Regions from separate parts of the Homo sapiens genome. Here regions 2, 3, 4, 5, 6 and 7 are each linked to region 1. Evidence: promoter capture Hi-C in 16 types of primary human blood cells and fetal thymus (Javierre and others, 2016). All regions are on one chromosome and are shown on one strand. Each heading gives the region's core, a stretch centred on a gene start or on the middle of the fragment in contact. The rest is flanking DNA. Distances are from core to core; before and after follow the strand shown. Region 1 holds the start of SUV39H2 (SUV39H2 histone lysine methyltransferase). Region 2 overlaps FAM107B (family with sequence similarity 107 member B). Region 3 overlaps FAM107B (family with sequence similarity 107 member B). Region 4 overlaps FAM107B (family with sequence similarity 107 member B). Region 5 holds the start of LOC124902380 (a long non-coding RNA gene). Region 6 overlaps FAM107B (family with sequence similarity 107 member B). Region 7 overlaps NMT2 (N-myristoyltransferase 2).

Region 1 (2,700 bases), core at 201-2,700:
TGCAGAACAGTATTTGTATTATGATGCCGTTTGTAGCTAAATAAAGTCTGGGAGCATGAGTGTGTGTGAGGAAGTGGTGTTTCCCATCGTAGAAAATGATTAAATATTTAAAAACGAGAAGTTAAAAAGAAAATCACTCCGAAAAGGCTATTTCGTTATTTTCCTATACATTTTTTTCTTCCATAGTTAAAACTATATTTCAGGGGGATTTGTTTTGGTTTTGCTGAATACTAAAAGCTTCATGAACACCTTTTTAAGACGGCTAGACAGTATTTCATAATGGAATCAAATAATTAACTATTCCTTTAATGGTCTGCGTTCATTTCCAGTATTTCAAATTTATACATACTGCTTTGAAACGTTTATGTAATTTTTTACATGAATTTTTTAAGGAGATATCAAATGGCCTTCTGCCAGTTTTCGTTATTTGCTCTAAGATTTCTGCTTTAGGTTGTTTAGAACAATCATGGATGCAGCGTCAAGAATGGGTGGGGGAGGGGGGTGGAGACCAGGTGGGAGGCCCCTGGAGTCGTCCTGCAGCTTCCTTACTAACGTGTCCTTCTCCTCCCGGCCCCCACCCGCCACCAGGCCGAGCTCAGGAGCTTGGCAACAACATGGGAGGGGAGCTCGGGTCCCCTTACAGACCTACCCAATCCCAATTTACATTAAAGTTGAGCCCAGGAGGTCTAGTCTGCAGTGAGCCGTAATCGCGCCACTGCACTCCAGCCTGGGTGACAGAGTGAGACCTCATCTCTTAAAAAATTCCAAGTCCAGCTCCCCCACCCCCGACGATTCGTAAGCCCCTTTAAGTGAGAAGCACTGATGTGGACCGGTGGTTTCCGCTGTGCCGCACATTAGGATCAGCTGGGAGCTGGATAGCACAGGCCACACCCCACACCAACCAGTCGGAATCCCGGCGACTGCCCCAAGCCAGCGGAACCTCTCCAGCCATGCCCACGTGCAGCCGCTTCCGAAGCCCGGAGCTCTAGAGGGAGCGGTGTCGGGGGGAGACTAACCATGGCCCACGGGGCTGCGGTAGCTGCGGAACCGTACCCGACAGGCAGCGTCCCCGGCTCCCTAGGTCCCCGCTGCCCGTGTCGGATCTCGCAGTGTGCGAGTGCTGCCGAAGTAAGACGTCTCCAAAGCGCAAAGTCCTGGCCGACGTCTTCCCGAGTGAAGGCGCCAAACGGGCCTGGCGAAGGGAAGGGGGCGCCGGACACTGCCGAGGATCCGGGAGCACGCGCGCTCGCCCCGCCCCGCTCCTCGCGCTTGGGGCCGGGCCTAGCTTTGGGGCGCAGGCGCGCTGGCCGCCGCGGCGGGGGGTCGGCCGCCAGTGACGTCAGGACGCCGTGCGGGTTCCGTCCCCCAACAAGCCCCGGCCCCCAAGTCCCGCGCGGGCCGGCCAGGGGCGGGGCGTCGGGCCAGCTGAGCTATCCCGTCAGACCGCGCCAGTTTGAATGAAAGCTCTACAAGATGGCGGCGGTCGGGGCCGAGGCGCGAGGAGGTGAGGCTGGAGCGCGGCCCCCTCGCCTTCCCTGTTCCCAGGCAAGCTCCCAAGGCCCGGGCGGCGGGGCCGTCCCGCGGGCCAGCCAGATGGCGACGTGGCGGTTCCCCGCCCGCCGCGACCCCAACTCCGGGACGCACGCTGCGGACGCCTATCCTCCCCCAGGCCGCTGACCCGCCTCCCTGCCCGGCCGGCTCCCGCCGCGGAGGTGGGCACTGTCCGAGCCTGGGGCACTTCGGAAGTGGAGCGTGGCCTCTCCGCCCGCTCGGCCCGGCCCCCTCCGCGTCTCCCGTGGCGGCCTCGGGCTTCGAGGCCGCTCCCCGGCAGTCCCCGGTTGGAGGTCCGGGGGGCACGGCTGCGACTGGCTCCTTTGTGGTGGTTCGAGCGCGGCGTGCGGCATGCGCCCGGGCCTTTGAAGTGGGAGGCGGGAAGCGACGCCCGCCGGCGTGAACATGACCTTAATATCAGAGGGGGAGAGTAAATCGGGGCGCCTGTGTGCTAAGAAAGGGGATAAGCGAGGAATCCCCCCCAAGGCGGACACGCTAGGAGGTTGAGTGCCTCGTTGGAGAATCGCCCAGAAAGTGGGTATTTGAGGTTGCAGCCTCTGGCTTACGGTAACTCTTTCACCCACCGGGAGCTTGGTGTTATTTCTGTGGACGCTGGGGAATTGGGCACCGGGGAACTGGGCACCGAGCGCGCGTGGGTGTGGGCGTCGGGGGGTGTTGGTGTCGCGCACGCTTTGAGAGCCTGGAACTTTTCCGTGCGTTCCGGAATGTAAAGGTGTTTTCAAGCTCGTCTCCTCTCCGCTGGGATTATGACCTCATTATCCCTGAATTTTTCTCCTTGGAGAATGTCAGGGGTTACTGTGAACCAGCGGAAGGTGTTTGTGGTGGTCATGAACTATTTAATTTTGTCAGTGAAATCTTTTTCTGCATTACTGGAGACTGTCGAGAGATTGTCTTTCTTTTTTTAACCACGTGTTTGCAGTTTTTCATGTTCACTTTTTTTTTTTTTTTAATTTTCAAAGAGCATTTCCTTTGCGGGTTGTGTTTTGAATCCTCAACTAGATAAAAATGTTTAGGAAAAGCACACAAACACACCTTGAGTAGATAAGAGGAACCTCCTTTATACGTGATTCCCTTAATGAGGTCAGCTTAACACAAAACGTTCTCTAGTTTTTGTAGATGGAAGGGACT
Region 2 (2,756 bases), core at 121-2,620, 350 kb before region 1:
ACACACCTCCTGGTCCGGCTGCTGATGACTGCTAATCTGTAGACAAGGGACAGGGTTGTTCTCTAAACGACTCCTATCAACTACCGTGACTAACCAACTAGGAGTCATCTGAGCAACTGTTAAATAACAATTTCCAATATATGTGCTCCGGCCAGAGAAATTCAACAGCACACTCACCTTGATCCCTTTAAAGTCCACACAATCACATCTGTAAACCAATCCTCAATTGCATACTTCCTCATTCATCTAGAATTTCTAAAAATTCTGGCATCTCTCCTATCTAGATGTTTTTAAAAATCACAAAAACTTAATTCAAAGTTGTTGTTTAGAGTAAAAATCGGTATATTCCATCTTTTTTTTTTTTTTTTTCTGAGACAGGCTCTCTCTGTTGCCCGGGCTGGAGTGCAGCGGCATGATCTCAGCTCACTGAAACCTCTGCCTCCTGGGCCCCAGCGATCCTCCCACCTCAGCCTCCTGAGTAGCTGGGACCACAGGCACATGCCACCACGCCCAGCTCTATTTTTTTTTTTTTTTTTCGTTTTTGAGATACAGTTTTCCTCTTGTTGCCCAGGATGGAGTGCAATGGCACAATCTCGGCTCACTGCAACTTCCTCCTCCCAGGTTCAAGCGATTCTCCTCCCTCAGCCTCCCGAGGAGCTGGGATTACAGGTGCCCGCAACCACGACCGGATAATTTTTTGTATTTTTAGTAGAGACGGGGTTTCACCATGTTGGCCAGGCTGGTCTCGAACTCCTGAGCTCAAGCCGTCTACCTGCCTTGGCCTCCCAAAGTGGTGGGATTATAGGCATCAGCAACCACACCCAGCTAGTATAGTCCATCTTTAATGACAGAGGACACACAGTCAAAATAATATATGTCTCCAATTTCCCAATTTTCATTAGCAGAACTTTCCGTTAAAAAAAATTTGGCCAAATTTCCAGGGAAACAAAAGAGGCAGGTGACTTTTGTGATTTAATTATGGTTTATTTCACAGTTATCAAAACTAAATAAACAACAGGATAAAAAATATGCACAGATTAAATCTTTAATCAGCACAATATAAGTTGCTTAAGAGTACTCTGTTCAAAATAAAGGTGTTATTAACCACAGGAAAAGCTGTTTTTAAGTAATCTGAATAAAGTTTTACTCAGTTTCATGACTATCAAAAAGTCTTGATATAACACTACAGACAGAATTAAGGGGTTTAAATTTTAGGATTAAGAATTTAGCTATCTGAATAATTTAAATTTCAAACATTTTTCTTTCCCTACATTTCACTGGCAAAATTAACTTCAACTATTATTCAATTCTCCTGGATTATGCAAAAGCTGCTGAAGATTTGATGTATGACACATTTGGCTGACACTCTATTGCAACCTATGAATGGGTTTAACTATTACACAGTATTCATTTTCCTTTCAAAGATTTTACACAATAGTGACAGTAAGATAAAATATGTAGTAACAAAAAATTCAGGAAAATGGTGCTTATATGATAAATATTCTCTACTTACAGCAGTCAAGAAGTCATATAAATTTAGTTAATATTTTACCACAGTGGATTACTTAACTTTCTGTGCTGAATGCAAAAAGTCAAGCATTGCCCATGTAAGTCTCTAAGTCTAAATGGAACAGAGATAGTGTCGACAGACAGAAATTAGTTTCTCCAAATGTCATAATTAACTACAATACCATCCCTTGCACAAGAATAGTTGGTTCTCTTTAATCAATTCTGACATATACAGCTAACAAGTACTTTCAACCCCTTTATGACAGTATCACCCACGAGTAACAGTAATTCCCAAGTCGGCTTCTCGGTCAGGTAGCTACCTGTGACTACTGAAGCGGGCAAAGCCAATTTAAAAAACTATAAAATTAATAAGTGCTCTTTGCAGAAAAAGAAAAGTAATATACCCATGTGTTAAATAAAAAGCAAAAGCACATCCAAACCCTCTCCATTAAACGAATCGAGGAGCACCACTCCATCGCAAATGTTCTATGTGAACAGTGGCCCCAAAATTATGCAAAGTAGAGACCCTGTACCCATCAACCCCTACCTATTCCTGCATCCAGAGATAACTCTTACCAACAGTTGGGTCTATGTTCCTCCATACTTTCTATACCCATATAAACATGCCACAATTCTGCCACATCCCTACTGACAGACATCTATTTGGTTTCCAACTGTTCACTATTAAAAACAATGAGGCTCTGAGCCTCTGTGGACATTTATAGCTGCACACTTCTACAAGTATTTCTGTTGGCTAGATTCATAGAAGCGGAGTTGCTGGCTAAGCATCTGCACATCGCATATTTTGATGAGTACTGCCAAAGTGCCCTACAAAAAGGCTGCAATGATTTATATTCCCACCCCCAGAGTATGAAACATACAGACAACTTTGAAAGGTACATTTCACATAAACCACTAAATACATTCAAGGGCAGACGGGGCGAGTCCCCATTCATTCCACATCTACCTGAACTCTGTGTACCTATATATTAATAAGTGAAGTCATTTCATTACCTGGGACAGCATTCATCCAGAGGAAAGGTCTGGGGCTCAGACCGTCACAGAACAATGCCTACTCACTTAGTCAAACATCTCCCGGCCTAATTATTTTTCTTAGGGTACAGGGAAAATTTGATTTGAATTTAGCCCTTGTTCTTTTTTTCCGGGGGGACAGAGTCTCGCTCTATTGCCCATGCTGGAGTGCAGTGGCATGACCTCGGCTCACTGCAACCTCCGCTTCCTGGGTT
Region 3 (2,801 bases), core at 230-2,729, 330 kb before region 1:
TTCATCCAAGGCCACTCTGAAGCCTTTGGAGACCACTCAGGAAGGAGCATGCAGTCCTGAGCTCGGCCTCCTGAGCTCGGGAGAGAGGCACGGTGGTGTAGGACCCGTGACTCAGGAGCAGTGCAGGAGGAGTTGAAATCAGCCCGTTCTCCAGGCCAAACGAGAGACCACAGGCCACCCTCGCTCTCAGCTGCACTGTGTCCTTCCTGTTTTGCCTGTCTACCATGCAGCCACAATTCTCTAAAGTTCAGCACTTCCAGAAAAAAGAAACAAAAAGCAGCCAATTCTGTTCCAAGGTTCACTATCTGATCCTAAAAACTTTAAAAAAAAAAAAAAAAAACCAAAAACTCTCATATGGTGAAGCTTAACTGAAATAATAAATTATTTAGCTTCCTTATCTGCAAAAAGAGAAGGCTGTGCCAGATGACCCTTGAGATCCCTTATTAGTGAAATGTTCTGATAATAAAGAAGAGTTTGGCTCACCTGCTGGTCTCCACCACACAGGTTTATAACCAAGAGCCCTACAGCTCTTGTCCCACCCTGAGGGCCTGACTGACCTGTGGAGGGCCCCACCTTTCGCCTCCATTCACTCACCCCTGTTCCCAAGAACCACTGACTTCTTTACATGAAGCCTACATTGAGTAAGTTTTTAGGTACAGATGCTGAATTACCCAAGCTGTATCCACCCTCACTCCAGGCACCCCGAGGAGAGACTCAACTGCTTGGCCCAGGGTTAGAGAGGCCCACACGGGAAGGCAGAGTGGAGCAGATGTTATTTAACCAAAAGTCTGTATCCTGGGGCTCCCAGCTACCACAGTCAAGAAACACATTTTTAAAAAATCAAGACCCTTGAACTAGCAGCAGTAGTCACCCATACCGTATACGATAAATAAAAGTAAGCCAATGTTTATTCTTCTTTGCATAAAATCACCTATACCAACACTTATACATTACAGCATCATTCAGTTAATTCAAGTCTGAATCCCAGAAACTCTCCTGAAATCAAGCCACAGTTCAGCCCTATTCTTCCTAGTTTTTCCTGACATACTTTTGCTTACTCTATAAATCCACGGATATTCTTCTTGCCTACTCCCACCAAAGCCCAAATACACGTGAAAAAAGTTAATCATGAAGTTTTTCTTATTCCCTTACATTTAGAAAATCAGCATCTACTCTCATAGACTACTTGTAAGAAGACAAATTTCTGCTACTCTCTGAAGAATTTGTTGGCAATGTGTAGCAAAAGGCCTTACCGTGAAACACCCTTGAACGCAGTAATTCCACTTTTAGGAATTTACCCTAAAGACATCAACAGAGATGTAGACAAGTGTACACAGAATGATATTTATTCCGGCATGGTCTATGATAGCGGAAAAAATGGAAGCCATTTAAATATCTAATAATGGAATACAGTGCAGCTTAAAATCATCCATTATTAGAATAAATAATGAAAGGGAAAATATTCACAAGGCACTAAATAGGAGAAAAACATTAGGCTCCAAACAGTATGCCCTTTACTTTGGAAAACAAATGCCTACGTGTGTGTCTGTGTGTACAAATGCACAGCATGGTGATCCTCAAAGTGTCATCCCAGGGTCCGAGGCATCGGCACCATCATGGAATTAGTTAAATGCAAATATCGGAGATGCAGTGAGTCAGTCTCTGGGGGGTGGGCCCGGCAACCTGTGTTTTATCATGTTTGCTAAGTGTCACATAACCTTTGCAGTAGACATTAAATTTATTCCATCATACAGATAGGGAAATTAAGGCCCAGCGAGACTAGGTGACTTGCCTAAATCTACAAGGCTAATTAAATGGCAGCTAGCAGCATCATGCAGCTAGCTCCAGAGTCCATGCTCTGAGCCACTTTGCTACAGCACCTCTCTATTTTAACTCTCCTATTTGGACGTGTGCTCTTTCTGCTAAATTAATGGCAGGATGCATCCCCCTGTTGTCTGATCACCTTCATAGTGGTTTAGCGCTTCTGTTACAAAGCTATTGATCTGGGGGCTGGGGGTGTCCTGGGCTCTATCACTAACATCCCCATTAATATATCTCTTGATGAATACCTGGTTGACATCTTTGAAGGCTAAAAAAAGATATTTAGATCTAAGTGAACATTAAATACCAGCACACATAAGCAAAAACTTGAATGCCATCAGCAATGACATGCAGCAGATACTGACTAAACACACAAGGCACCTGTTGCCTGCTAGAGGGGAGAGGCCATGTGGCAATCCCATGCACAGCTTCCAAACCACCTGGCCACCATCTTTGAAATTATACAAGTTTTGATTGACTTCTTTTCCTTTTTTGGTTTTTGCATGATTTCAAAATTTGCATGTAACAGAATCCTTATTTATATTATGTTATAGTCACAAAATTAAAATTGGTAAAATAAAGTTATCACACTTAATTCCTAAATTGCAAGTTCCTGAATAAAGAGACCTCCCTTGGAATTTTTCTCCTATGTTATTTTCTGAGGAGAAAACACCTCGGTCATTCATCTCAGGAAACTACAAAGAGGATGGACTGAGAAGATGGTTGATTTCGGCCTAATCATTCCTGAGAGGAAGGAAAATACACAGACCACGAAAAGCTTCCTGCTGGGCTAGCTTTCAAAGCCCTCAAACATTCCTGTCTTCAAGAGCTGACTAATAATTCCGTAATATTTATGACCTGGCCCAACTGGCCAAACAAACTAATACTTTCAAAAGAAGAGACTATCTTCAAACAGACTTAATGACAGAAACTTTAGAAGGAACACAGAGACCAGGTGTTCAACTTCCTCATTATGACAG
Region 4 (3,075 bases), core at 391-2,890, 280 kb before region 1:
TACAAATATTCCCCTTAAAACTACAATTTTCAGCCAGGCACGGTGGCTCACACCCGTACTTTGGGAGGCCAACGCAAAAGGATTGCTTGAGGCCAGGAGTTCAAGACCAACCGGGCAACAGAACAAGACTTCATCTCTACAAAATATAAAATTTAAAAATTAGAGTGGTGAAGCGCTCTGCAGTCCTAGCTACTCAGGAAGCTGAGGTGGGAAGATCCCTTGAGCCCAGGAGTTCAAGGCTGCAGTGAGCTATGGTGGCACTGCTGCACTCCAGCCTCCATGACAGAGCAAGACCCTGCCAAAAAAAAAAAAAAAACAAAAAAAAACAAAACTGGCAAATGCATTCTCCAACTGGAATCCCAATCTCTTTGTGAGGCTACGAAGACACAAGCCTCAAACACATGGTGAAGGGCGTGTGAAGAAGCAGTAAAGACACAGCTCCATGAGAAGAAGGCCCAAGTCTGATCCCAGCTCTTAAAACCCCGAGCAAGCTTTTAACCTCCCTTGTTGAAAAACACTGATCATGGCACCTCTCATGGAACTGCATTGGTTGGTGCCTCTACAACTGATTTCTAGAAATCACAGAAAATAATGGCCATAACTGTGCCTGGCATATAACAAATGCTCGGGAAATGCTGGCCACTGTTATTTTTATTCTCATCTTAAGGCACATCTCAGTGGACCTTTTTCTCATCAGCACAGGGTATCTCTTATGATAGATGACAAACTCTAAGAAGGTTCCTTAAAAGCAGATGTCTTAGGCAACAATGGATGGACTTCAGAAACACTATGCTACATGAACAAAACCAGACCCAAGAGAGAGGCCACACTGTGATTCTACCTGTACAAAGGCAAAACGCTACAGACAAGAGAAAAGATCACTGATTAACTAAGACTGGGGGTGGGAGGGGGAACTGACTGCAAAGTCTAAAAACTGGACTGGGGGGAGGCTGCCCACCCTTATAAAGTTACTAAAAATTACACAACTGTGTACATATAATGGGTGAATTGTATGGAATATAAATTATACCGCAATAAAGCTATGCTAACAACAAAACAGATACATCTCCCAAGCATTTCTGCAGGTACTTTCGTATCAATCTCGCAATGAGAGTAAATGCAGATATGTACAGAGTCCAGCAAAAATGATTGAAAACGCAAGACTTGGGCATAGATCAGACTTGGATCCTAATTCTGGCTCAGCTTCTTCCTAGGGCAACCTTTTTTTTTTTTTTTTTTTTTGAGAGGGAGTCTTGCTCTGTCACCCAGGCTGGAGTACAGTGGTTCGAGCTCAGCTCACTGCAACCTCCGCCTCCTGAGTTCGAGCGATTCTCCTGCATCAGCCTCCCAAGTAGCTGGGACCACAGGCGTGCACCACCACGCCTGGCTAATTTTTATAATTTTAGTAGAGACAGGTTTCACCTTGTTGGCCAGGTCCTAGGGCAAACTTTTTACTTCTCTCCCCCTTGGTCTCCACATCTGTAAAATGGGAATAAAACAACACTAAGTCCAGAGGCTGATGTGAACATCATAAAGCTCATCCTCCACCAGTCTCCCCATATCAATCAATGGCACCATCTTTCACCCAAAGGCTGAGGCCAAAAGAGCAGGTGTCACCCACAATGCCTTTCTCTCTTGTATCAACTCCAATCCATCTCACCAGCGGCACCCCGGCTGGTCTCCCTGCTTCTATTCCTGGCCCTCTGCAGTCCCCGTGGCCCTCCACAACCACAGGGACACACTGACAAAATACAAGGTCCATCTCCTGCACGCCCTGCTCAGAACTCTCCTGTGGCTTCCTCATGAGCCACGTCCTCACCGTGGCCTGCCAGACCTCCTTGGACCCCACTGCACAGCTCTCTTCCTGCCCTGGCCGCTGGCTCCTCCCACACAGGCCCTCTGGCCATTCCTTCCATAGCAAGCTCCTGCCAGCCACTGGGCTGATATTTGCACTTGTTTCTGCGAGGCTCATCCCCTTGCCTCACTCAGATCTCAAATTCTCCTCCTCGGAGGAGCCTCATCCTAATAAAAACACAACCTGCTCTCCCACCAGACTCCAGCCCCCTGAACTGACTTAGTTGTCTTTACAGCACTGACCATGGGAATCACCTCATCCATGTATCTGTTTACCTTCTGTCATGCACTAGCATATAAACTCCATGCAGGCAGGGAGTCTGTCTGTCCCAGCCACCATGCTAGCCCGTGATCCCACTGATCCCCAGAGCCTGGAACGATGACTGGCATATGGCAGCATTCATTAAATAGTTGCTGAATGAATGAAGAAATGTCATAAAGAACTTGACACCATGCCTGGTCACATATAAGATGATTAAAAACTGTTCATTGATGATAATAATAATATTACCAGTATTATTACTGCATTTCACAGGTAAGAATATGCAAACCCCAAGAGGGCAACTGACTCACTCAGGTCAAACTCTACGTCTGATGTCTATGACTTCTATGACACCTCCCATTCCATGGGCACAGAATAACAGAATTCACCCACCGCAGCAGGAACCTGAAAGATGATGTAGCTGATTCTCTTGCACACCCGACGCCCTGCCTCCTCTCACCTTCTAAGAGTCACCTATCCTAAGGGGTGGCCCACATGCTGTTCCAATTCCAGAGCATTCCCTAGAAGGACAAGCAGGCATAAAGAATGCAGGCTTCTATCTCACCCTAAGACAACTCTAAGAAGTAGGTGAGTGTGACTATTTCCATTTTATAGAAGACGACGCTGGGAAACAGAAATAATGACATGCTCAAAAGTCATATACTCATTCATGGCAAGCTTAGGCTTAAAAGTCTGAAAATCTTTCAAGTCTAGGCCTCTCTCTTTCCGATACACTACTTTACCCTGCACATCCACTAAAAAAAGAAAAAATGAAAAAGAACCCTGACCAGTTTTATGTGTTTCAAATAGAATCAAGTTACAAGGGAAAGAATATTATGAAGCCCCCTCTACATACGCATATGCACAAATGGCATTCTCAACTTCCTCCAGGACATGGGAATTTTGATACATCTACATTAAACACTCACAAACCACCTGTGATTATTTATACTGCAAGA
Region 5 (2,935 bases), core at 402-2,901, 390 kb before region 1:
AAAATGTCCTAAATGTAGAGATTCATCTCTATACTTTATTTGACTTTGACCACTTCTTCCCTATTTCCTACCCCTAACCACATCCAGAAGATCTCAAGTAGATGGATGGGATGGGGATGAACCAGCTTTTGTGACCTTCCTGAGACCCCCATCCAGGAAGCAGCCGACTGCCCTCCAAGCTGCCTTGGGTAAAAGGGAGTTTGTCCCCAAAGGAACCCCTGCCTGCACCCTAGGCACACAAACACCAGCCACCAGTCTGTCCCCAGGCCACACGGTCCTACGGGAAGCCACCTGCAGCCTTCTCCTGCTCCCTCAGCAGACCCAGAACTGCCCTGTCATTCAGTAGGAGAATCTGTCTTTGTCCTGGTAGCTTGAATGGTGCCAACTCCATTTATGTTTTCTATTTGTATTTTCTTCGTGTTTTTCTTTTCCTTTCCTAACATATATGGGGTTCATTACATTTTTCATTGTTCTTTTCCATATTCATTTTGAAGTTCTACATCCTATTTCTATTTTACTAGAATTTTACTACATTTTTAGCTAACTTAATTCAACAAAATATTTTTGCATCATTAATAATTAAATAATACGTATAATCCCCCTTTCAACAAGTCTAACAAGATGAGGTGTTTGCAACCTTTTGTAGCCCCCTCCTTTTGATGGCTCCTTGAATTTAGTTCCAAGATTATAATTATTATTATAGGGCTTCTTTTATTTTGCACCGTATACCCTTTTTATCTTCTAATAGACTTTATGCTTTTTAGCAGTTTTAGGAACACAGTAAACTTGAGCAGAAAGCAGAGAAAGTTCCCATATACCCCCCCATCCCCACATATACACAGCTTTCTTCATCATCAACATCCTGCACCAAAATGGTACATTTGTTATCCTCAATGAACCTACGTTAATACATCATTATCATCCAAAGTCCATAGGTTACATTAGGGATCACTCTTGATGTTGTACATTCTATGACTTTTGACAAATATATCATGACATGTATCCACCCTTATAGCATCTTACAAAACAGTTTCGCTGCCCCCAAATCGTCTATGTTCCACCTATTTATCCTTCTTTTTCCCCAACCCCTGGCAACCGCTGATCTATTTACTATCTTCTATAGTTTTGCCTTTTCCTGAATGTCGTATAGATGGAATCACACAGTATGTATGTAGCCTTTTCAGATTGGCTTTTTCACTTAGTAATATACATTTGAGGTTCCACCATGCCTTTGTTGGCTTGATAGCACCTTTTCTTTTCATCACTGAATAATATCCCATCGTCTGGACATACCACGGTTTATCCATTCATCTATGGAAGAACATCCTGGTTGCTTGCAAATTTTGTCAATTATGAAGAAAGTTGCCAGAAACATCTGTGCATTGGTTTTTGTGTGGACATAAGCTTTCAATTCCTTTGGGTAAATACCAAGGAGCGTGAACGCTGGATCACATAGTAAGAGTATGTTTCATTTTGTAAGAAACTGCCAAACTGTCTTCCTAAGTGGTTGTGCCATTTTTGCATTCCTCCAGAATGAGTGAGAATTGCTGTTGTTCCAAATCTTCGCCAGCATTTGGTGTTAGTGTTTTGGATTCTGACCATTTCAATAGGTGCGTAATAGTATTTCATTTTTTGAATTTACAATTCCCTAATGACATATACTGCTTATTCTTTCAAATATTTTGAAAATGTGTTAAACCTCACAAACTATACTATCAACTACATTTAAATGTGTTAATGGTTTTATTGCTCACTATATAATGTAGCATTTATTTCCCTTTTAAAAGTTTATTCGTTTATTCCACAAACATCGACTGAGTGCCTGGTGCGTGCCCTGCGTGAAAATCTATAGTTACAAACTGACAAAACCTCTGTCTTCATGGAGCTTCCCTCCCCATAAAAGCTTTAAATTATTTTGTATTTGGCTAAAGTATACCCTTACATAATTTGTTTGTGGAATTTCTTTGTTTGGTTGGTTGTTGCTGTTGTTTTTCCCGAAATATTCTATTCTAGAAGGAAACATAGCTCATTCCCTGGACCCCTCTAGGTCTTCGCTCAAACATCACCTTCTCAGTGAGCACTACCACGGCCACATCACTTAAAATTGCATCCTCCTCCCCACAGTGCTCCCCGTTTCACCTCCTCCATAATATTTCTAACACACAACACATCATATTTCATGTAAGACATGAATGTTGACGCACACTATTACGTTTTATGTCAACAAAAGAGAAGGGCGGCTAACTGAGTCATGGCCTTGACATTAGGTCACACTGATGCGGGGCAGCTGAGCCCCATCATGGAGCTTAGCCCACAAGGCTTCTTGGCTTTGCCCAGGAAAGAATTCAAGGGCAAGCCAAAAGTAAAAGAAAACAGTCTTAGCGTTACAACTCTGTGACTGCCCCCGCAGAGCAGGGCTACCCAGTAGGCAGAGAGTAGCAGCTCAGGGCAGGGCAATTTTGCAGCCATATTTATACACACGTTTAGCTGCATGCAGATTAAGGAGTGGTTTATGCACGGGAGGGGTAGTAACTTTTGGATGGTTGGGTGCCGTGGAAAGAGGCAGTACCTCCCGAGTGTTGCCATGGCAACAGTAAATTGACCTGGTACACTGGTGGGTGGGTCTGATTGAATGCTGCTTTCATCCTGGCCCTGTTTCAGCTAGTCCTCAATCTGATCTGGTGTCCGAGCTCCACCTCTGGAGGTGAGTCCTGCCTCTTACCTCAACACCTCACCAATTTTTTTTTTTTTTACTAATTTGGAGATTTTAAGAGACTTCTCATGCCTTGAAAACCTTTGCATGTGATAGGCAGTCCTTTTGCAAACATAGCTCAGTAGTAAGACATGACAAAGCTTCACCCTCTTGCGGGTATCTTCTTTTCTTACAGTGTCAAAACATGACTGGTTGTTTATAAGGAAACACGGAATTGTGGTC
Region 6 (2,723 bases), core at 83-2,582, 260 kb before region 1:
GGTGTGAGCCACCTCACCGAGCCCATAAACTTTCAATGAATTGAATTGGCAATTGAAATGTTATCATAGAACAATAGAAACCTAGTGGTACGGAAATTGATTTTAAGAATGATTTGCTCATGACCATTCTTAGCTTGATTTGGAGAGATTCATAATCTTTTAAAAGACAGTTTATCCATGTGACTAATGAAAAGCAGAACTTCTCTTCTTACTCAGAACTTCCTTACTTACCCCATGCCTCCTTACTAACCTGACAGTTTTTTCACTGCACAAACTTCAAGATAATCTTAATTTCCTCACTTACGCCCTACATCTACTTTGGCGACAAAACCAAGACATTGCTTTCTCTGTCATTTCTCTCAAATCTACATTTTTCTCTCCATCTCTATCAAATTCTGCCTGGCCCACAGACACACAATCCTCAGAGTGCATATCCACTAATACTGCTTTCCTTCCGTCTGCCCCACACAAGCATACACTATGACTCAAGTCATCTCACAAACAGGCCACATCAGCTAGGCTAATCTAGTAAAACAAATTATACAACGCTTTTCCCTCAAAGCTGGACGACTGGCTTTTCTTTTATTAAAATTCAAAGTCAGCTGGGGGCAGTGGCTCACACCTGTAATCCAAGCACTTTGGGAGGCCGAGGAGGGCAGATCACTTGAGGTCAGCAGTTCGAGACCAGCCTGGGCAACATGGTGAAACCCTATCTCTACTAAAAATACAAAAATTAGTCAGGAGTGTTGGCGGGCGCCTGTAGTCCCAGCTACTCGGGAGGCTGATACAGAAGAATCGCTTGAACGTGGGAGGCAGAGGTTGCAGTGAGCCAAGATCGCGCCACTGCATTCCAGCCTGGGCGTCAGAGTGAGACTCCATCTCAATAAATAAATAAATACAATTTGAACTTGCTTCTTTCTTTCCCCCTAAACAGTCGTTGTCCTGGGAGGTTCACAGATCACATGAGGTCCTGTGGGCTCTTAGAGGCTCTGAGCACGATCAGAAGCCATCAGTGTGTGTGTGATACTGAAAGCCAGGAGCCTGCATTCACCACCAAGGGAGAAACTGAGGCCTGTGCCCAGGGCGCTCTGGCATTTAGTGGTCGGGGAGCTGCTGGGAACTGGCAAAAGAGACAGAGAAGGAGTCAGGTGCAGTGTCTCACGCCTGTAATCCCAGCACTTTGGGAGGCTGAGGGAGGTGGATCACCTGAGGTTAGGGGTTCAAGATCAGCCTGACCAACATGGTGAAACCCAGTCTCTACTAAAAATACAAAAATTAGCCAGGCATGGTGGCGCATGCCTGTAATCCCAGCTACTCGGGAGACTGAGACAGGAGAATTGCTTGAACCCAGGAGGCAGAGGTTGCAGTGAACCAAGATCGTGCCATTGCACTCCAGCCTGGGTGACACAGCAAGCGAGACTCTGTCTCAAAAAAAAAAAAAAAAAAAGAGACTTAGAGAAGGAATGGCCAGTGAAAGTGAATGGGACCCAAGGGAGCTATGAATGAAACCTGGAAACCAAGTGAGACCAGGGTTTCAAGCAGGAGAGGATGTGATGGGCACCTTTGTGAAACGCTGCTACCAGGTTACACGAGACAGGGACTGTTTACCAACCCAAGAATCACTCGGGGAGCAGCAGGGGTGAAGACCTGGCTGGAGTGGCTTCAAGACATAATGGGAAAAGAGGAATTGGAGGCAGCTAGTATAGGCAGCTTTGTCAAGGGTAGTAGACGGAGGGGAATCCAGGGCCAAGAAAGGTTTTGTTTCACTGTTTTGCTTGTTTTTAAAAATGGCAGAAACTGCTGGGTGTGGTGGTTCACATCTGTAATCCTAGCACTTTGGGAGGCCGAGGTGGGTGGATCACTTGAGGTCAGGAGTTCGAGACCAGCCTGTCCAATATAGTGAAAACTCATCTCTACTAAAAATACAAAAATTAGCTGGGCATGGTGGCATGTGCCTGTAGTCCCAGCTACTTGGGAGGCTGAGGCAGGAGGACCACTTGAACCTGGGAGGTGAAGGTTGCAGTGAGCTGAGATCATGCCACTGCACTCCAGCCTGGGTGACAAAGTGAGACACCATCTCAAAAAAACAAAAAAAAAGGCAGAAACAAATAATTTTCTATAAGCTGATAGGAACGATCTTGTAGGGAGAGAATTAATGGATATCTTTTGGTCTTCTGGACATTAAGCCTAGGCCTTGCTGAAGTGAACTCTACTCTAGCCAAGTTTCCTGTGAGGCATAAATACACCCACTTCCACCTCCCAATCTTCATTCATGATGTTCCCTCTGGCAGAAATGCTCTTCCTCCCCTCTGTTAGCAGATCCAAGTTTTGCCCATGCATTAAGTTTCTGTTCAAATCTTAGGTCTGCCACAAGGCCTTCCTTAACTTTTATAACCTAGACCAAGTGCTTATTTAATTTTTTAATAGCACTGAGCATTTATAAATTACTTATTAAGTATCTCTGTGTGGAAAGGAGTGAGCTAGATTTGGGAACAGAGTAAGTTAAATAAAAAGCACCATTCCATACTCGAGAAGCTAACAAACTTCTTATTTGTCCTAAGCAATAATTTTTTGTATGTGTTCCCTAATTACCTTGTCAACTTTGAAGGCAGGCAGGAATCAATGTTTTAATCTTTTTTAGTGCCTAGCACAATAAGTACTTCATAATCAGAGCTAGATAGATATTTATCAAATTAAATTAAAAATAAATATGACGGAATTAC
Region 7 (2,705 bases), core at 186-2,685, 260 kb after region 1:
AACTGGGATGAAAATGATCAAGAAAAGAAATCTCTAACCATGCCCCTTCCTCCCGGCCACACCCTGCCCTTCTCCTGACCCTCCTGATCCTCCTGATCCTCTAGAGACAAACTCTCCCACCAGAAGGACAAGCAATTTCCTCTGTACTTCAGATCCTGGGCAACCATAGCCTGTCGTTCCCAGCCCAAGTGTTGGAAACTGGACTCCTTTTTAGGTAAAACATTACGTTTGAATTCTAAGGTTCCTTTCTCAAAGCCAATATTCCCGCCAGCTCTTGGAGATTCCCCAGTTCTTTTTTTTTTTTTTTTAATTCCTCAAATAACGTAATAATACATGGAACATGAGACTACTTGAAATGAGAAGACAGCGCAGAGGACTGAATATGGAAATCAATGACTTTTTTCAATATGTAAAATTACTGAGACATTGTAGAACTTTGATACCATGCAAAGAATATTCTTCGCTGTAATTCAGAAAGTGGTTAGAAGTTTCAAGAGCCCTTCGGTTTTGCTGTATGTCAACACAGGGTGGACACCATTGAAAGGTACAATCGACCCTTAGAAGTTTATAAACAGCAACTTTGGACTTCTGTTCCACTTGGAATCTGAAATCTGTGGTGTGGAGCAATAATTTTAACTTGGGAAGCTTACTCATCGTACACAGCACAGAACAGGGTTTGTTTCATACAAACACTGTCAAGAACCCTAAGGAAACGAAGTTCTGAAGTCCAGCTGGAGGCAGGTGAAAGTCTTTTTGTCTCTGCTTGGAAGTCTCACAGCACAATCCAAGATGGCCACAGTTTTTGTAAGCTGTTTATCTTACATTTGTTTAACATCAAAATCATAAAGGTCCTATCTTAATGACACATACAAATTTAACAAAATACTTTTCCGGTTCTCATTATTATATCTTTGGATGACTTCTTTTCCTTGGGTGTCTTTTAAGTCCCCAACATTAAAAGGAGCAAATTTCTAGCAAAATGAAATTCATGTGTATCTGAACTCCAACAACACCATCTATTAGAAGACCTTACAATTTAAATAGGAATTGAGATCACAGCATATTTCAACTAATAATGCTTAACTGTGCATCAGTTTAGCTTAAAATGGCAAAGTAGAGCCCAGTCTTATAAAAATAGAACTACAATGACTATAATGAATTTGTCATGGTACTTTTTCTTTCTTGATTTAATTTTTTGTTCCTTGATTTCTTTCCTGGTTTCTGAGTTAAATCTTCTAACAGTAATATATCAAACTCAAACTATTTTGCAACAGACATGAATCAGCATCTTTGTTCCACATGACCCAATGACCAAAATGACCAACTCCATGAAGAAGACTTCAGAGTGATTTATTCCCTACCTAATTAGCTCATGGGTTGACCAGCACACCTCTACATGAAATGTCCCTTTGCGAAACATTGATATCCCAATGTTCACTATTTAAATGCTTTCTTTCTTCTTCTTCTTCTTTTTTTTTTTTTTTTTTCATTTTGAGGCAGAGTCTCACTCTGTCGCCCAGGCTGGAATGCAATGGCATGATCATGGCTCACTGTGACCTCCGCCTCCTGGGTTCAAGTGATTCTCCTGCCTCAGTTTCCTGAGTAGCTGGGATTACAGGCTTGTGCCACCACGCCTGGCTAATTTTTGTATTTTTAGTAGAGACAGGGTTTCACCATGTCGGCCAGCCTGGTCTTGAACTCCTGACATCAAGTGATCTGCCCGCCTTGGCCTCCCAAAATGTGGTGATTACAGGCATGAACAACCACATACGGCTCTATTTAAATGCTTTCTGAAAGTAGATTCAAATAAACACAATTTCCAAATCCACAGGGACAAAGCAGTAAGGGAAACTCAGCTATGATCATTTCTCATGCCTGTCCATTCACCTTCCATAGTAGCACTACCTGGGAAGAATGAGTGTGCATCAGGCAAGGTGAGATGAATATCTACCCGACATTAACTTCCCACGATTCCACTCCTATATAAGAGGCAGGTATATTCTCTTTTTCTTCCACACATGCTTTCTGTGGCATACTAACCAGCAACTATACTCTTTACCCATTGTTTTCCAAATTTAATAGTACCTTGGAAAAAATGTCCAAGTTTTATAACACTAAGAAGTTTATAAGAATCCAAATATCATTTTTATTTTGGTTCTTGTATGTAGACCAGAATATTCTGCAATGCAGTCCACTGTAATTTACAGTGCTATCTAGAGTTGGCATAAGCTTAAAGGGAAAGAGCCCCAGATTTTAAAAATGCAGCAGAAAAAAGCCCATCTTAAGACAATACTGACTTCCTCCAAATTAAGAAAAGAAATTCCCTACTGTGATGGTTACTACTGAGTGTCAACTTGATTGGATTGAAGGATACAAAGTATTGGTCCTGGGTGTGTCTGTGAGGGTGTTGCCAAAGGAGATTAACGTTTGAGTCAGTGGGCTGGGAAATGCAGACCCACCCTTAATCTGGGTGGGCACAATCTAATCAGCTGCCAGTGCAGCTAGGATACAAGCAGGCAGAAAAATGTGAAAAGAGAGACTGGCCTAGCCTCCCAGCCTCCATCTTTCTCCCATACTGGATGCTTCCTGCCCTCGAACATCAGGCTCCAAGTTCTTCAGTTTTGGAACTCAGACTGGCTCTCCTTGCTCCTCAGACTGCAGATGGCCTATTGTGGGACCTTATGATCATGTGAATTAATACTTAA

Evidence for each region. The method cuts DNA at HindIII sites, captures the fragments that hold promoters and counts their contacts. A CHiCAGO score of 5 or more calls a contact.
Region 2: a contact is called between a fragment that was not itself captured here and the fragment with the promoter of SUV39H2 in region 1, in 16 of 17 cell types (neutrophils, monocytes, M2 macrophages and 13 more). The highest score is 27.9, in neutrophils.
Region 3: a fragment that was not itself captured here is called in contact with the fragment with the promoter of SUV39H2 in region 1 in 17 of 17 cell types (megakaryocytes, monocytes, naive B cells and 14 more); the score reaches 22.9 in megakaryocytes.
Region 4: a contact is called between a fragment that was not itself captured here and the fragment with the promoter of SUV39H2 in region 1, in 11 of 17 cell types (neutrophils, naive B cells, monocytes and 8 more). The highest score is 12.2, in neutrophils.
Region 5: a contact is called between a fragment that was not itself captured here and the fragment with the promoter of SUV39H2 in region 1, in 11 of 17 cell types (naive B cells, M2 macrophages, monocytes and 8 more). The highest score is 9.3, in naive B cells.
Region 6: a contact is called between a fragment that was not itself captured here and the fragment with the promoter of SUV39H2 in region 1, in 7 of 17 cell types (monocytes, neutrophils, megakaryocytes and 4 more). The highest score is 12.6, in monocytes.
Region 7: a contact is called between a fragment that was not itself captured here and the fragment with the promoter of SUV39H2 in region 1, in 1 of 17 cell types (fetal thymus). The highest score is 6.0, in fetal thymus.

What each region holds. Positions count from the first base shown.
Region 1 is chr10:14,877,416-14,880,115 of GRCh38, forward strand. It overlaps SUV39H2 (SUV39H2 histone lysine methyltransferase), which reads left to right and starts at 1,451. Exons shown (of 6, transcript NM_001193424.2): 1 at 1,451-1,504. The coding sequence starts at 1,474. It overlaps SUV39H2-DT (SUV39H2 divergent transcript), which reads right to left and starts at 1,244. Exons shown (of 1, transcript NR_186426.1): 1 at 1-1,244. RefSeq lists a silencer at 1,185-1,924. The HindIII fragment of the contact is 2,774 bases long and covers 236-2,700 here.
Region 2 is chr10:14,523,516-14,526,271 of GRCh38, forward strand. All of the region lies in intron 3 of FAM107B (family with sequence similarity 107 member B), which reads right to left. Among named protein-coding and RNA genes, the nearest start is that of MIR1265, 88 kb to the left of the region's middle. The HindIII fragment of the contact is 9,482 bases long and covers 1-2,756 here.
Region 3 is chr10:14,543,370-14,546,170 of GRCh38, forward strand. All of the region lies in intron 2 of FAM107B (family with sequence similarity 107 member B), which reads right to left. Among named protein-coding and RNA genes, the nearest start is that of MIR1265, 110 kb to the left of the region's middle. The HindIII fragment of the contact is 2,236 bases long and covers 362-2,597 here.
Region 4 is chr10:14,594,202-14,597,276 of GRCh38, forward strand. All of the region lies in intron 2 of FAM107B (family with sequence similarity 107 member B), which reads right to left. Among named protein-coding and RNA genes, the nearest start is that of MIR1265, 160 kb to the left of the region's middle. RefSeq lists enhancers at 1,328-1,828, 1,829-2,329. The HindIII fragment of the contact is 2,303 bases long and covers 490-2,792 here.
Region 5 is chr10:14,484,693-14,487,627 of GRCh38, forward strand. LOC124902380 (a long non-coding RNA gene) reads left to right here and starts at 2,578. Exons shown (of 2, transcript XR_007062062.1): 1 at 2,578-2,704. The HindIII fragment of the contact is 499 bases long and covers 1,403-1,901 here.
Region 6 is chr10:14,613,249-14,615,971 of GRCh38, forward strand. All of the region lies in intron 2 of FAM107B (family with sequence similarity 107 member B), which reads right to left. Among named protein-coding and RNA genes, the nearest start is that of FAM107B, 160 kb to the right of the region's middle. The HindIII fragment of the contact is 5,880 bases long and covers 1-2,723 here.
Region 7 is chr10:15,136,536-15,139,240 of GRCh38, forward strand. All of the region lies in intron 2 of NMT2 (N-myristoyltransferase 2), which reads right to left. It overlaps LOC107984210 (a long non-coding RNA gene), which reads left to right. Exons shown (of 2, transcript XR_007062067.1): 1 at 1-2,705. Among named protein-coding and RNA genes, the nearest start is that of NMT2, 31 kb to the right of the region's middle. The HindIII fragment of the contact is 1,584 bases long and covers 644-2,227 here.